Linked DNA regions of Homo sapiens: region 2 is linked to region 1. The links are contacts of gene promoters, found by promoter capture Hi-C in human tissues and cell types (Jung and others, 2019). All regions are on one chromosome and are shown on one strand. Each heading gives the region's core, a stretch centred on a gene start or on the middle of the fragment in contact. The rest is flanking DNA. Distances are from core to core; before and after follow the strand shown.

Evidence for each region. The method cuts DNA at HindIII sites, captures the fragments that hold promoters and counts their contacts. A contact is called where the count stands out against the background at its distance.
Region 2: a fragment that was not itself captured here is called in contact with the fragment with the promoter of ESRP1 in region 1 in 1 of the 25 tissues and cell types used here (lymphoblastoid cells).

What each region holds. Positions count from the first base shown.
Region 1 is chr8:94,638,000-94,644,972 of GRCh38, reverse strand. It overlaps ESRP1 (epithelial splicing regulatory protein 1), which reads right to left and starts at 3,799. Exons shown (of 16, transcript NM_017697.4): 1 at 3,523-3,799; 2 at 2,889-3,017; 3 at 1,557-1,670. The coding sequence starts at 3,654. LINC02894 (long intergenic non-protein coding RNA 2894) reads left to right here and starts at 5,506. Exons shown (of 1, transcript NR_034034.1): 1 at 5,506-6,973. RefSeq lists an enhancer at 2,372-2,461. The HindIII fragment of the contact is 5,400 bases long and covers 1-5,117 here.
Region 2 is chr8:95,714,595-95,721,206 of GRCh38, reverse strand. All of the region lies in intron 3 of CFAP418-AS1 (CFAP418 antisense RNA 1), which reads right to left. Among named protein-coding and RNA genes, the nearest start is that of GDF6, 440 kb to the left of the region's middle. The HindIII fragment of the contact is 4,002 bases long and covers 1,704-5,705 here.

The DNA.
Region 1 (6,973 bases), core at 2,550-5,049:
ATGTAGGCTAAAAGGCTTACGCCGTATGAATGCTCTTTGTAAATAATGCTTGTCTACAGAAATCTAGAAGAATATATCCAAATACATTCATGTTAGAGAAAAACATTTTAATATATTGAGTGGCAGGATTATTTCATGTTTTGCCATTTTCCCTTTTCTTTAACGAATATACAGAATTACTTTCACTATAACATTAATTGTTTTAGTTTCTGTATTTAATCAAAATTCTAATAGCTGTGGCTGAGGAAAAAGTCTTAATTTTTCTCCAGATGTTTTCCTACACCCAAAGCACTCCACCTAAATAATGAAAACAGCTATTTTCCTCTGGCCCAACAGGGAAAAGATTAAGTCTTGTCCTTCCGTCATGTGAGTTTGGGAGTAAAAAAGTAATCCTTACATATTACTATTTCTGGTAAGGATGTAGCGACTAGTCTAGCATTTAATTTTTTAAAAAAATTCTTCCCCTTTTGTCAAATAATTACTAAGACTCGTATAAAAGGAATGATTTTCTGAAGACATAACAACTTGAGTTACTCCTTCAAACTTTTTGAATTGTCATAATATATTAAACGAAATAAAATCTGCACTTACTTGCCTGGGTCGTCATTTGTCAGTCTACATCTTTCATTGCAAGCCTTGCCTTATACAGGTACCTAAATATATTCTACTTCCATCTTTTCAAGCTCGGTGCCTGCCTACCACAATAAAAAGTTACAGCTCAAACTAATTTAAGTTGTTAAGAGACAGTGTATTAACAATGATTGGCTACACTGGGTGGGTTGTCTCTGCTGTTCCTTTTCCCACAGCCCCTCAGTATTTATCCCAGGGAGAGAAATCACATTTTACCTATAGTAAGACTGTATTTCTCTCACTCTGTAATCCTCTCTCTGTCAGAAAAATGAGCAAAGGTAAAAGATGAGGCTGACCCTTTTGTTTTGATGCAAGAATGTTTTGAACATTGACTTAAAATCAGACAAAGTGAAGAGTGCTACGATTGTGGTTTCACTAGATATAAGGTTATCTTATTTAAGTAGCCTTTTTAATGAAATGATTAGAAATACAACTTTAAATGTTTAATTCTTTTTTCCTTCCTTTCTAGGATATAGCATTTCCAACACAAATGAGGATATTATGACATACTAAAGAATAGTTCTTTCCTCTCTTTGTAGTTATTTTAAATGTCAAAAATTCACACTCTGTATTAGCTTCGGAAAAGGGAAGTGTCATGCATCTTGAAAATTGGACGTAAACAAAGAGACTATTTTAAGTCACCAAAGAGTATCTTTGTATATACATAACACCAAATTTACCATTTTAATAATTTTTAAGAGTATGGTTCAGTAAAACATTAAGTACATTAACATATTTTGCAACCATAAACACCATCCATTTCCAGAGCTTTTTCATCTTCCCAAACTGAAATTCTGTACTCATTAAATAACTCCCTATATGCATCTTTTTAAGAACAGAGAAACTTGAATAAACCAAAAATTTTTAAAAACCTCCAGTCACCCCAAAGCTCCAACCATTTTTTTCCCAGAAGCCAGCACTCTTACCTTCTTGGAAGCCTCAGGATGCAGGATTTGCCTGACATGAAGCTGCCCATCAGTACAGAGACAGAAGGAAGTCCCTACTCCAATATTCAGTTCATTGCTCACTGACTGGTTAAACTGCAAGAACAAGATACACATAGGGATGCAACTGATGCACGATTTACAAACTCTGCAAAGTAGCTCCCCTTGGTGATAGCCAGAGAAAACCGCAATAAGGGCCCTGATGGGTGACACCGGTGCTGGGGCAACCTTGGACAGACTCCTTTCCCACGAACCGTCTAGCTTCCTCGAGGTAGGGAAGCTTTCCAATCAATCCGCAGTTCGCGCCCAGGAGAAACTTGTCAATGCATTCTCCCTTCTGTTTTTACAAAAAAAATTCATTCAAGACTTAAGTCAGATGTCTCATTTCATCAGCAGGTTGCCTGCAGATTACATCATTCCCTAGTGTTACTTTTTATATGTTTGGATGTGCCAGGCTTAAGAAAGATGCCAGCTTCTAATAAACAAATACGGGTATTGGGTATACAGATCTGGAAAGTCTTGGATGAATACACCCCAGGAAGGATAGCTTTCTCCTATAACTCGAAGCTCGTGTGCTAGGGCAGAGGTCGTGAGAACGCAGAGCATTCATCTGTGCACAGGTGTTTAGCGCCCCGCCCTACCCGATCCGGCACCCGTCAGCACCCCGGAACAGCCGGTTTTTAGGTCACCTCAGTCCTAATAAGGGGATTCCATCAGTTCCGCAGTGACACAACGGGCAGCCTTGCACGTTCGGACCTGAAAAACCTCCCTGGCAGTGGGACCAAGGCCACTAAAGAAATAATGACGGACCGAGCCTTTCGTTGGGAGTTCAGAAGCCTGAAACCAGGCAGGCACCTTCAGGTTCCAACCCACAGTGCTACTTCTTGCACACCCGCCGGGCCCACCTGCACGTCTACGCCACAGCGCCCCCTGCCCGAAGGCTGTGGGCCCAAACCCCGCAGGGGAGCGGCGCGTCTGGGGTCTGGACCTGGAGATGGGGGCGCTAGGATTCAAACTCCGCACGTCAATCAATTGGCAAAATGGAGCTGACTCTCCGGCTCCAGTAACTACTCAGGAAGCAACTCGAAAACTAGTGAATGTCGGTCCCAAACCCTGGGGGCTGGGAGATGAAGAGAAGCAGCGACCCCCGCCCAAACGGTGCGCCCCGGCCCTCAGGCTGGGCTCCCACCCACGCGGCCGGGCAGGCGTCTCGCCACCCTGCTCCGGGAACACGCGTGGGCCGCCCTGAGAGGGCGTAGGGTGCGGTGGGGTTGGGCCCAGGCTGGGGTGGGTGGCGTGACCCGGGGTTGTCACCTGTCGGAGGGCTTGGTCCAGCTGCGACGCCGAGGACAGGCTTTCGACGTCTATTTTAGTTTCTTCTTTGCAGTCCTCCGTCAGTTCCAACTGATCCGGTCTAACTAGCACTTCGTGCAACTGTCCCACCTCCGAAGGTAGAGAAGCACGGGTCAGTTTCCCCCAATTTCGGAGCCTCTTTCTGCACCCTCCTCCCTCGCTCCCCTGCTGGGGCGGCCCGCGCCTCTCTTGGGGTCCGGACGCAGAATCAAAGCTCTCGACTCGCCATCGGTTCCGGTGCGTTCCTGCCCCCCGCCCCACCCCCCACCCGATAGGTCGGAAAAGCCCTGGAAGTGGACCCCGGGGCCTCCGAGACCCCACCTCGTCTCGGCGGAGCGTCCCCCGACGGGCAAAGAACCCGGCTCGGTAGCGCCGGCCTCTCCACCTGAGCTAAGTTGCGGAGGACTGAAATGGCTCCAAGGCAGTTGGCCAATAAGTTTGGTTTTACTCTAGCTTCCCTAGGCCTCGGGTCCAGACTCACAAGTGGGCAAACAAGAGCACTTATTTACTTACCTCCACCCCCCTCCCCGCCCAAACCTCTACCACAAACTTCTTGCCCCATTCCTTGCATTTAGACGAAAATGTGGAGAAATACCTTCTTGTTGGCCAGATCCACGACTTTCCAGAACAGCAGGATCAACTCCTTCTCATCCGAGCCTAGCTTGGCCCCGGTGGCCCCAGCAGTGATCCCAAAAAGCACCACCAAGTAATCCGGAGAGGCCGTCATGACGATAGGTGGGGAGGGGGAGAGGGGGGGTCGGGAGGCGGTAAGGTGGTGTGGAAGTGAGAACGAAAAAACCTGTGCTAAACCCTCTTCTAAGAGAAAAAGAAAGAGCGCCCACCCCCCTTCCTTGCTACTGCTAGTGCAAAAGGCGGTAACCAACCACCCAAGCCCACACCTGGTCGGTGCTCCACGCCCAGGGCAGGAAGGGGGGTGGGAAGGAGGGCGCAGGAGGCCTGCCCTTTTTGTATTCAGTTGCCCGGGCGTCTATGCAAAAAGCCTGGAGCAAGGCTGCCCCCCCCGGGAGGCACGCAATGGCTGAAAGCTTTTCTGTTTTGGGATGTGGCTTTACCTGCCCGCCCCTTCCCCCTCCCCCACGTGGTGCAGGTAAGAGACACCTGGCGGCGCCGGCCCATTGGCTCCTTCAAACCACGACGTGGCAGCGGTGGGGGAGGAGGCCGCTTCGGGAGGGGGAGGAAGGGGCGGGAGACAATGGCTGGATGAATGGAGAGGCGAGGGCAGGGGAGGAGGAGGGGGAGACGTGAGGGGCAGGGAAGAGGCGGTTGACACCCAGAGGGTAGACGAGGCCAGACGGGGAAAGGGCTCAGAGAGGTAAAGGGCTCGGAGTCGCTGGGGGGAGGGGTTCCCACTGGAGGTAACTGAGAGGTGCAGGGGGGCTCGGAGAATACCGGCTGCAGGGAACGAAGCCGAAGGTTCTGAACGGTCAAGCGAAAAGGCCAGGTGCAGGGAGGCGAAAGGAGGCCAGAGGTGAGGCCCGGGGCGCGGAGCTGCCCAGGGCGCGGCGCAGGCGGAGGACGAACTGCTGAGGGAGGGACCTGCCAACCGCAGCCAGGAGGTGGCGGGGGCAACTGCAGATCCCCGGAAAAGCAGCTCCTGAGCCAACACAACTTTCAGTGCAAACAGCAGGAGAAATCCTGCGAGCCCCCCCTTCTCCGGGCCGGAGCCCGGGTGCACGCTCGTCCCAAACCCGCCGCGCTGCCCACCTTCCGGAGAGGAACCCCGCGCGCGGCAGAGCCGGACGCCAGGGGCTGGACGCCCAACCACCTAGTCACTCCCCAGGACGCAGTTATCGCGCGCAAAGCAGCTGGGGGACCCCGCAAGGAAACTCAGGCACAATGGAGCCCGCTTCTTTTTCTGTCAACTCTGAATGCTATGTCTGGTTTGGTCCTGGCTGCTAGTTCGAAGCTGGAACATCCTCCAGAGCTGGGGCCCATTTCCTTTTATTTGCCTTGGGCCCCAAATGAAAAGCATCTATCCGCATGCCTAATAAAAATTTTCTTAAATCGGGCCACGCAGGCTTTTTCCCAGGTTCTGCGCCCTGACCCCATTCCCTCTGCTCATGCTTTTGGCATTGTATTGGAGTGTGTTGACTTGACCAAGCTCCCAAACAACCTCCCTGCTCCACCTCAGCTTGGTCTGCCCAGAGGCTCGTACCCCAACCATCACCCCCCAGCCACCAGATCGGTGGCAGTATGTTGTTGGGTCTTGTTGACATTTTAGAGAGAAAAGCGCCAGAGGTGAAGTTTTCTCGGGTTTTATATCTCAAAGCGATTTGTTCTTGGGAACAGAATTCTGTCTGAAGTATTAATAATTCGGCTCTAGGTGTCCAGCCCCGTTCATATTCATGATGTGAAACGGGCAACCATGCACCTATCCCTGCAGAACCCACTCCGGGTACAAATCCGGTAACCTTTCAAGACGCGTGTCAAGGGAAGCTGGAGACCTGGCTTTCCCAGTGGGGGTTCAGCTCCCGGGAGGGGGGAGAGGAGCCCGAGGCCCGCGCCGTCTCGTTTCCTGGTAGGAGAAGGTGCAGGCGGAGGCGGGGCCTCCCGTGATACAGGTGGCAGCTCTCGTCCCCTGAGAGCGGGCGAAGGCCAGGGTCCCACACTCGCAGCGCTGCGACGGCGCTCGGGACCTCCCTCGTCCACTGCTTGAGTTCCAGAGGTGGGTGCTTCCCTGTCCTGAACTTCAGAGTGCGGAGTCATAAATGGGTTCCGGCTGGCTTACTGCAGTAGCCTCGCTCCTCCCCAGCCCCGGTAACTCCGAGCTACCCGTCCAGGCCCTCGGGCGTCGCGGGGGCAGGGACTGGGCGCGGAACGAGGCAGGGAGGGACCTGGAAAAACCACCCAGATTGCATTGCAGTGGGCGAGGCCGCCTGGAGGAGCCGGTTCCCCCTAACCACCTCCCCGTGGGGCTCTCGGTGCGCGGTTCCCAGGTGCTCAGCTCTGCTGGGCCCAGGAGGTGCCGCCTCACAGGGACGCGGAACCCCGTGCGTGGCCCCCGCCGGGTGGAACAGATAGCGCGGGGCGGTCCGGAGGCTCGTCGCCAAGCAGGTGACTCTTGCTGAAAAAGTGGTTGGAACACTTGAGGAAACCCGGCCCCGCCTGTTCTTTCTAGGTCTTTGGAGTTTGGATTAATCATTTGTGTAGCCCGTTTGGATAAACCGAAGACTTTATTAAATCAGCGCGTTTAACAGGAATTCCGCAGTAGTATCCACATTAGAATCTTGAGTCTTGGAGTTGAACATATTCACACAGACTTGCCTTCTTCCTGTTTAGTTTATGCCTTGTGTTCCGTTATTGGAACGCTAAGCTTGTGGGAGTTGTTTACATCCTACTGCTCAAGGTCATCGCTAAGGTGTGATTTTTCACAAAAAGAATTTGCAACCTCCGGCATGAATGACTTAAGGGAAGTCTAATCCCGGTTTCTGATTTTTTTTTTTTTTTTAATTTAAAAGTTAATCTTTCTGGGCCGGGCGCGGTGGCTCACGCCTGTAATCCCAGCACTTTGGGAGGCCGAGGCGGATCACGAGGTCAGGAGTTCGAGACCAGCCTGACCAACATGGTGAAACCCCGTCTCTACTAAAAACACAAAAATTAGCCGGGCGGGGTGGCGCGCACCTGTAATCCCAGCTGCTCGGGAGGCTGAGGCAGGAGAATCGCTTGAACCTGGGAGGCGGGGGGTTGCAGTGAGCCGAGATCTGGCCATTGCACTCCAGCGTGGGCAACAGAGTGAGACTCCATCTCAAAAAAAAAGGTTAATCTTTCCAACTAGATTTTCAAGGATGAGGATTTTGTTGTTGTTGTTGTTGTTGTTCTCAAATGTATTCCCAGGGCTTGGAACAGAGCCTGACATATACTAGGCACTCAACAAATATTTGTTGAATGATTGTAATGAGTAACACCCATTTTTGCAGATCTTTGTCTTCTGAGCCTAGGGCATAGGTCATCACTGCAGGGGTGAGATTGTCAAAATGGGAGTCTACAGGTAATTTAAGACTTAAATGTTTAAAGAGTATGTGCTC
Region 2 (6,612 bases), core at 2,455-4,954, 1.1 Mb before region 1:
GTTGGTCTTATCCTCTTTCATAAAAGAGAAATCTGAAGTTCAGAAGGTTAACACCTAGCCCACAGTCTCAATAAAGATTAATTTAGGCCGGGCGCGGTGGCTCACGCCTGTAATCCCAGCACTTTGGGAGGCCGAGGAGGGCGGATCAGGAGGTCAGGAGATCGAGACCATCCTGGCTAACATGGTAAAACCCCATCTCTACTAAAAATACAAAAAATTAGCCAGGCGTGGTGGCACGCGCCCGTAGTCCCAGCTACTCGGCAGGCTGAAGCGAGGGAATTGCTTTAACCTGGGAGGCAGAAGTTGCCATGAGTGCAGATCGTGCCACTGCACTTCAGCCTGGGCAACAGAGTGAGACTCTGCCAGGGCAACAGAGTGAGACTCTGCCAAAAAAAAATTAATTAAAAAAAAATGTAAAGATTAAAGAAATAAAAGACCAAACAGGGACCTCAATTTACAGTCCTTTTCTTTTTTTCTTTTTCTTTTTTTTTTTTTTTTTTTTTGAGACGGAGTCTCACCCTGTCAAACCAGGCTGGAGTGCAATGGCGCGATCTCAGCTCACTGCAACCTCTGCCTCCTGGGTTGAAGCGATTCTCCTGCCTCAGCCTCCTGAGTAGCTGGGACTATAGGCGCACACCACCACACCCAGCTAATTTTTGTATTTTTAGTAGAGACAGGGTTTCACCACGTTGGCCAGGATGGTCTCGATCTCCTGACCTTGTGATCTGCCCGCCTCAGCCTCCCAAAGTGCTGAGATTACAGGCGTGAGCCACCACGCCTGGCCAACTGAAACTTTTCAAAGGAATGAGGATATTGCTGGATATGCCACTGAGGTGCTAGTAACAAACTAGGTTGTGCACATGTTATAAAAGAACCCCAAGACTCCAATTTTTCTTCTAATCGTTTATGTAGCTTATAAAATAGGGATCATGGAATGGGTAAACAGGTGGTGATTCCTTAGCTTTGCAGACTTAAGGGATGTGTATTATAAGTTGGTGCAAAAGTAATTATGATTTTTGCCATTAAAAATAATGGCAAATAAAACCAAACTAACACCGAATTTAGTTTGAAGATGGGGGAAATCTTATAAAGTTAACTGAAGTCATGTCACATATACCACAGAGAAATACAGTGCACTGGTCTCTTTTCAAATTGATATTACTTGGCTTGTTGCTACAGGAGGCTAAATTAGAAGCTTCCTGAAGACAGGAATTCTGTGTATCCTTTTGCTCTTTCTACCCTAGTGCTAATTACAGAGAATGACACATTGTGAGCACTCAATTTATTTTTAAATAAACAAGTGCAAAAGTAATTGTGGTTTTTGCCATCAAAAGTAATTGCGGTTTTTGCCATTAAAGGCAATGGCATTTGGTTTTTACTCATTTTACTCATAAAAAGCAATGGTTTTTGCCTTTAATGGCAAAAATCGCAATTACTTTTGCACCAACCTAATAGCTTTACATGGGAAGGTTCACTGCCTCCATTATCGCTATCCAGTTACTCATTGCAAATTGCAGTTGCAAAATTCTCTTTAGGTTGCAATAGGGAAGAGACAAAACCCAGTGACAGTAATCAGGCAGAAAGCCTCACAGCTTTGAAAAGGGCAAGGTAAGTAATTTCCAGCTAATCTGTACTTGGACCAATCATTTTGCTGAATGTACTGGGCCAAGCAACCTCCTTCAGGAGTATGGTTGATGAACACTGGTTTAAAATCTGAGTTTCTGAAATAATTCAAATAGGAAGATTGACAATGGACGACGAAACCAAACAGTTATAATCCAAACTTACTCCGTTTTGTCTAGATGCAAAGTGTTCAGCCCTTGAAATATAAGGGGTATAATGAGAACAACAACTTTTGATTTGCTGTAATAATGATGATGATAATAAAATGATATTTAAGTGGGTTTGTGTATTTTACATGTCCAATTCATACTAATTGTTACATTCCAAATAAACATTTGTTGCTTAAAACGCATTTAGAAATTTTTGAGAATTGTTGCTTTGAGAAAGTTGCTGACAATATAAGCTCTCATGATTGTTGTTTTGAGACGGATGATTTGATAATATCTATAAAAATTACATGTATTTCCTTGAATTAAAAATTCCTAGTTTGGCTATTTTAGGGTATAAATATTCATACAAGTATAATGTAAATTACTGCATTATTTTCAAATGCAAAAACTAGAAGTATCGTAAGTGTTTATCAATAAGCTTCTTTATAAGTGACTTATGGAATATTTATAGTGGAGAAGTAAAAACTATAGGCTTTGGAGTCAGACTCAGTTTGGATTTTAGCTCTCCCTAGCTGTGGGAACTTGATCAAGATCCCTCACTTGCATAAACCCATTTTTTTTCACTTGTAAAATAGAGAAAATAATGTAACCTATTTATTGGTGGCTGTGAGTGACACTTTAGTTAGTGTAAAGTACATAATCATTTAGCATGGCATCTAGCAATGCAGTGAGCACTCAATAAGCATTACTATTCTTTTTATTATGATTATTATAACCACACTATGGACTACTATGCAGGTATTAAAAATGATAAAATAGCTTAACTTATGCTGGCATAGAGAGATGTCCATAACCATACAACACATCACCAATGAATGTTCTCTTTCTTTTTTTTTTTTTTTTGAGACGGAGTCTCGCTCTGTCGCCCAGGCCGGACTGCGGACTGCAGTGGCGCAATCTCGGCTCAGTGCAAGCTCCGCTTCCCGGGTTCACGCCATTCTCCTGCCTCAGCCTCCCGAGTAGCTGGGACTACAGGCGCCCGCCACCGCGCCCGGCTAATTTTTTTGTATTTTTAGTAGAGACGGGGTTTCACCTTGTTAGCCAGGATGGTCTCGATCTCCTGACCTCATGATCCACCCGCCTCGGCCTCCCAAAGTGCTGGGATTACAGGCGTGAGCCACCGCGCCCGGCCGAATGTTCTCTTTCTTAGGAATGCTCATTCTCATGCCCAACCCTGCTTGACTGCAAATTCTGTGAGGGTGTATGCACCAATCCTATCTTATTCTCCATGGTATCGCCGGCACCTAGAAAAATACCAAGCCATTCCATAATATTTTATTGAATGAGCAGATGTATACATGAGAGCATTACTTGTTTATCTGTATATTAAAAAGTCAGAAGCAATTACAACAACTGCTGACAGTACTTTCCTCTGAGGAGTAAAATTAGGAAAGTAGATTTTCATCCACTTTTATCTTTCTCTATTGTTTGGAATTCTTACATTAAGTAACGACAAAAGATATTCTCATGTCCAGATGATGAAAACGTAACTGAAGCTATAAGCACAACCATGTTTTTTTCTTGTAAATTTGTTTGAGTTCATTGTAGATTCTGGATATTAGCCCTTTGTCAGATGAGTAGGTTGTGAAAATTTTCTCCCATTTGGTAGGTTGCCTGTTCACTCTGATGGTAGTTTCTTTTGCTATGCAGAAGCTCTTTAGTTTCATTAGATCCCATTTGTCAATTTTGGCTTTTGTTGCCATTGCTTTTGGTATTTGAGACATGAAGTCCTTGCCCATGCCTATGTCTTGAATGGTAATGCCTAGGTTTTCTTCTAGGGTTTTTATGGTTTTAGGTCTAACGTTTAAGTCTTTAATCCAACTTGAATTAATTTTTGTATAAGGTGTAAGGAAGGGATCCAGTTTCAGCTTTCTACATATGGCTAGCCAGTTTTCCCAGCACCATTTATTGAACAGGGAATCCTTTCCCCATTGCTTGTTTTTCTCAGGTTTGTCAAAGATCAGATAGTTGTAGATATGCGGCGTTATTTCTGAGGGCTCTGTTCTGTTTCATTGATCTATATCTCTGTTTTGGTACCAGTATCATGCTGTTTTGGTTACTGTAGACTTGTAGTATAGTTTGAAGTCAGGTAGCGTGATTTACAAGAAAAAAACAAACTTTACAAGAAAAAAACAAACAACCCCATCAAAAAATGGGCAAAGGATATGAACAGACACTTCTCAAAAGAAGACATTTATGCAGCCAACAGACACATGAAAAAATGCTCATCATCACTGGCCATCAGAGAAATGCAAATCAAAACCACAATGAGATACCATCTCACACCAGTTAGAATGGCAATCATTAAAGTCAGGAAACAACAGGTGCTGGAGAGGATGTGGAGAAATAGGAACACTTTTACACTGTTGGTGGGACTGTAAACTAGTTCAACCATTGTGGAAGTCAGTGTGGCGATTCCTCAGGGATCTTGAACTAGAAATACCATTTGACCCAGCCATCCCATTACTGGGTATATACCGAAAGGACTATAAACCATGCTGCTATAAAGACACATGCACACATATGTTTATTGCGGCACTATTCACAATAGCAAAGACTTGGAAGCAACCCAAATGTCCAACAATGCTAGACTGGATTAAGAAAATGTGGCACATATACACCATGGAATACTATGCAGCCATAAAGAAGGATGAGTTCATGTCCTTTGTAGGGACATGGATGAAATTGGAAATCATCATTCTCAGTAAACTATCACAAGGACAAAAAACCAAACACCGCATGTTCTCACTCATAGATGGGAATTGAACAATGAGAACACATGGACACAGGAAGGGGAACATCACACTCTGGGGACTGTTGTGGGGTGGGGGGAGGGGGGAGGGATAGCATTAGGAGATATACCTAATGCTAAATGACGAGTTAATGGGTGCAGCACACCAGCATGGCACATGTATACATATGTAACTAACCGGCACATTGTGCACATGTACCCTAAAACTTAAAATATAATAATAATTAATAGAAAAGCAAAAAAAAAAGCACAACTATGTAAAAACGTGTATGCCTACAAACAGGAAATAGGAAGAAATGGGAGATGTAAAAATGAATGATGTTTTCAGCTAGCATTATTGTATTTTCTTTCTTCAATGCCTTTGTTTTTACCCTAATGGTGTAGTTTTAAAATATTTTAAGTAGATTATATTCAAATATTGTAAGAAATAAACACTCAAAGAGAGATGAATTCATTTTCTATTATTTTACTGTAAGAAAATTCACTATTGGGTTTAAAATCAGAAATAACTTTATTATAAAAGTTATAGAAGTTTCTTATATAAATTTTGGAAAATATAGAAAATTAATTTTTAAAAACATAGAAAATACATTAAACCTAGAAAATATCTTACCACTTAAAGATAATCTCTCAAAGAAAATGCTAACATAATGTTATCTAGACAAAGTCAAAATTGAAATGCAGAGAGCATGTAATCACAGAATTTAGTTCAAAGACTGGAGAAATCTTATAAAGTTAACTAAAATCATGTCAGATCTACCACAGAGAAATATAGTGCACTGATCTCTTTTCAAACTGATATTAATTGGCTTGTTGCTACAAGGGGGCTAAATTAGAAGCTTCCTGAATACAGGAACTCTGTGTATCCTTTTGCTCCTTTTTTTTTTAAACTCCAGTGCTAATTACAGAGACTGGCTCATTGTGTCAGTCAATAATAACTGTCAACTTATTTTTAAATAAATGAATCATCTTTTGAAATGTAAGAAATAAATTTAAAAGGAGGGACAGAGAGAGATTGGAGCAAAAAAGAAGGAAGGGGAGGGGAGGTAAGGGAAAGGAAGAAGGAAGGAGGGAGAGAGGGAAGGAGGGAGGTAGGGAAGGAGGGAAGGGAGAGAGGGAGGCAAGGGAGAGAATGGAGAAAAGAAGAATAAAAGGAAGAAAGGAACTATTAGAGAGTCTGAAAGAAAATGGAGAGATGGAATGAGTCAGAAGTTGCCCTTTCTATCTTTCTATTTCTCCCTTCTGTGCTTACAGCAGTTACACAAGTCATGCACACTGGGTCTTTTTTCAGAGGCTGACTTTGGTAGCAGCTATGGCAACACTTTCAGCATTTATTAGCTTCTGGAAAAAAAGGATGAGACTTGAGAGAGCCTATAACAACATTTATTCTGGACCTCAGTCTAATCTGAAGCTACACATCTGGGAAGGTAGGAAGTCAAAAGGCCCAATTCAGCCTTTCAGTTGTGGCAAAGGGCAGAAGCTTCTTTACAAATAATATGAGCAAAAAAGACAATAGCTAGTTCAACTTGACACCCTATTTGTTAGCAGTTAAGTAAAACACAGAGATAAATCATGCCCAGAGTGAAGAAGAATAAGCAGCAGGTTACTTGGCATAAATCTAATTATGCATTCTAAAAAGAGTCTTACTTTTTATTCTGTTTGGAAGATGGGAGCAGGAGGTGAAGGAGAAGAGGACAGGAAAATAACGAGCTATACTTCTTTGGGGCTTTTAGTTCTTTGTCCATTTTGATCTCTCTTGAAGATGCTTGTCAAATACATTTTGGAAGGGCAACAGCAAAATTATGAAGCATTTTTAAAGGAAGATTGGTTCTTAAATCCAGCAGGGATAGAAGAATACATACTTTCTTGTCAAGCTATACACTCATTCTTGAGAGGAAAGGCCTGAAAGAACAATAGGGGTGTGTGTGTGTGTGTGTGTGTGTGTGTGTGTGTCTATATGTATATCTGAGACATGAAGAGTAGGTGAGGTTTCTCAAAGGATTGGAATAAAATCAGGGTGTAGATTAGAGATTATCATGATAATTCTTCAGGATAAATTCAAATTCC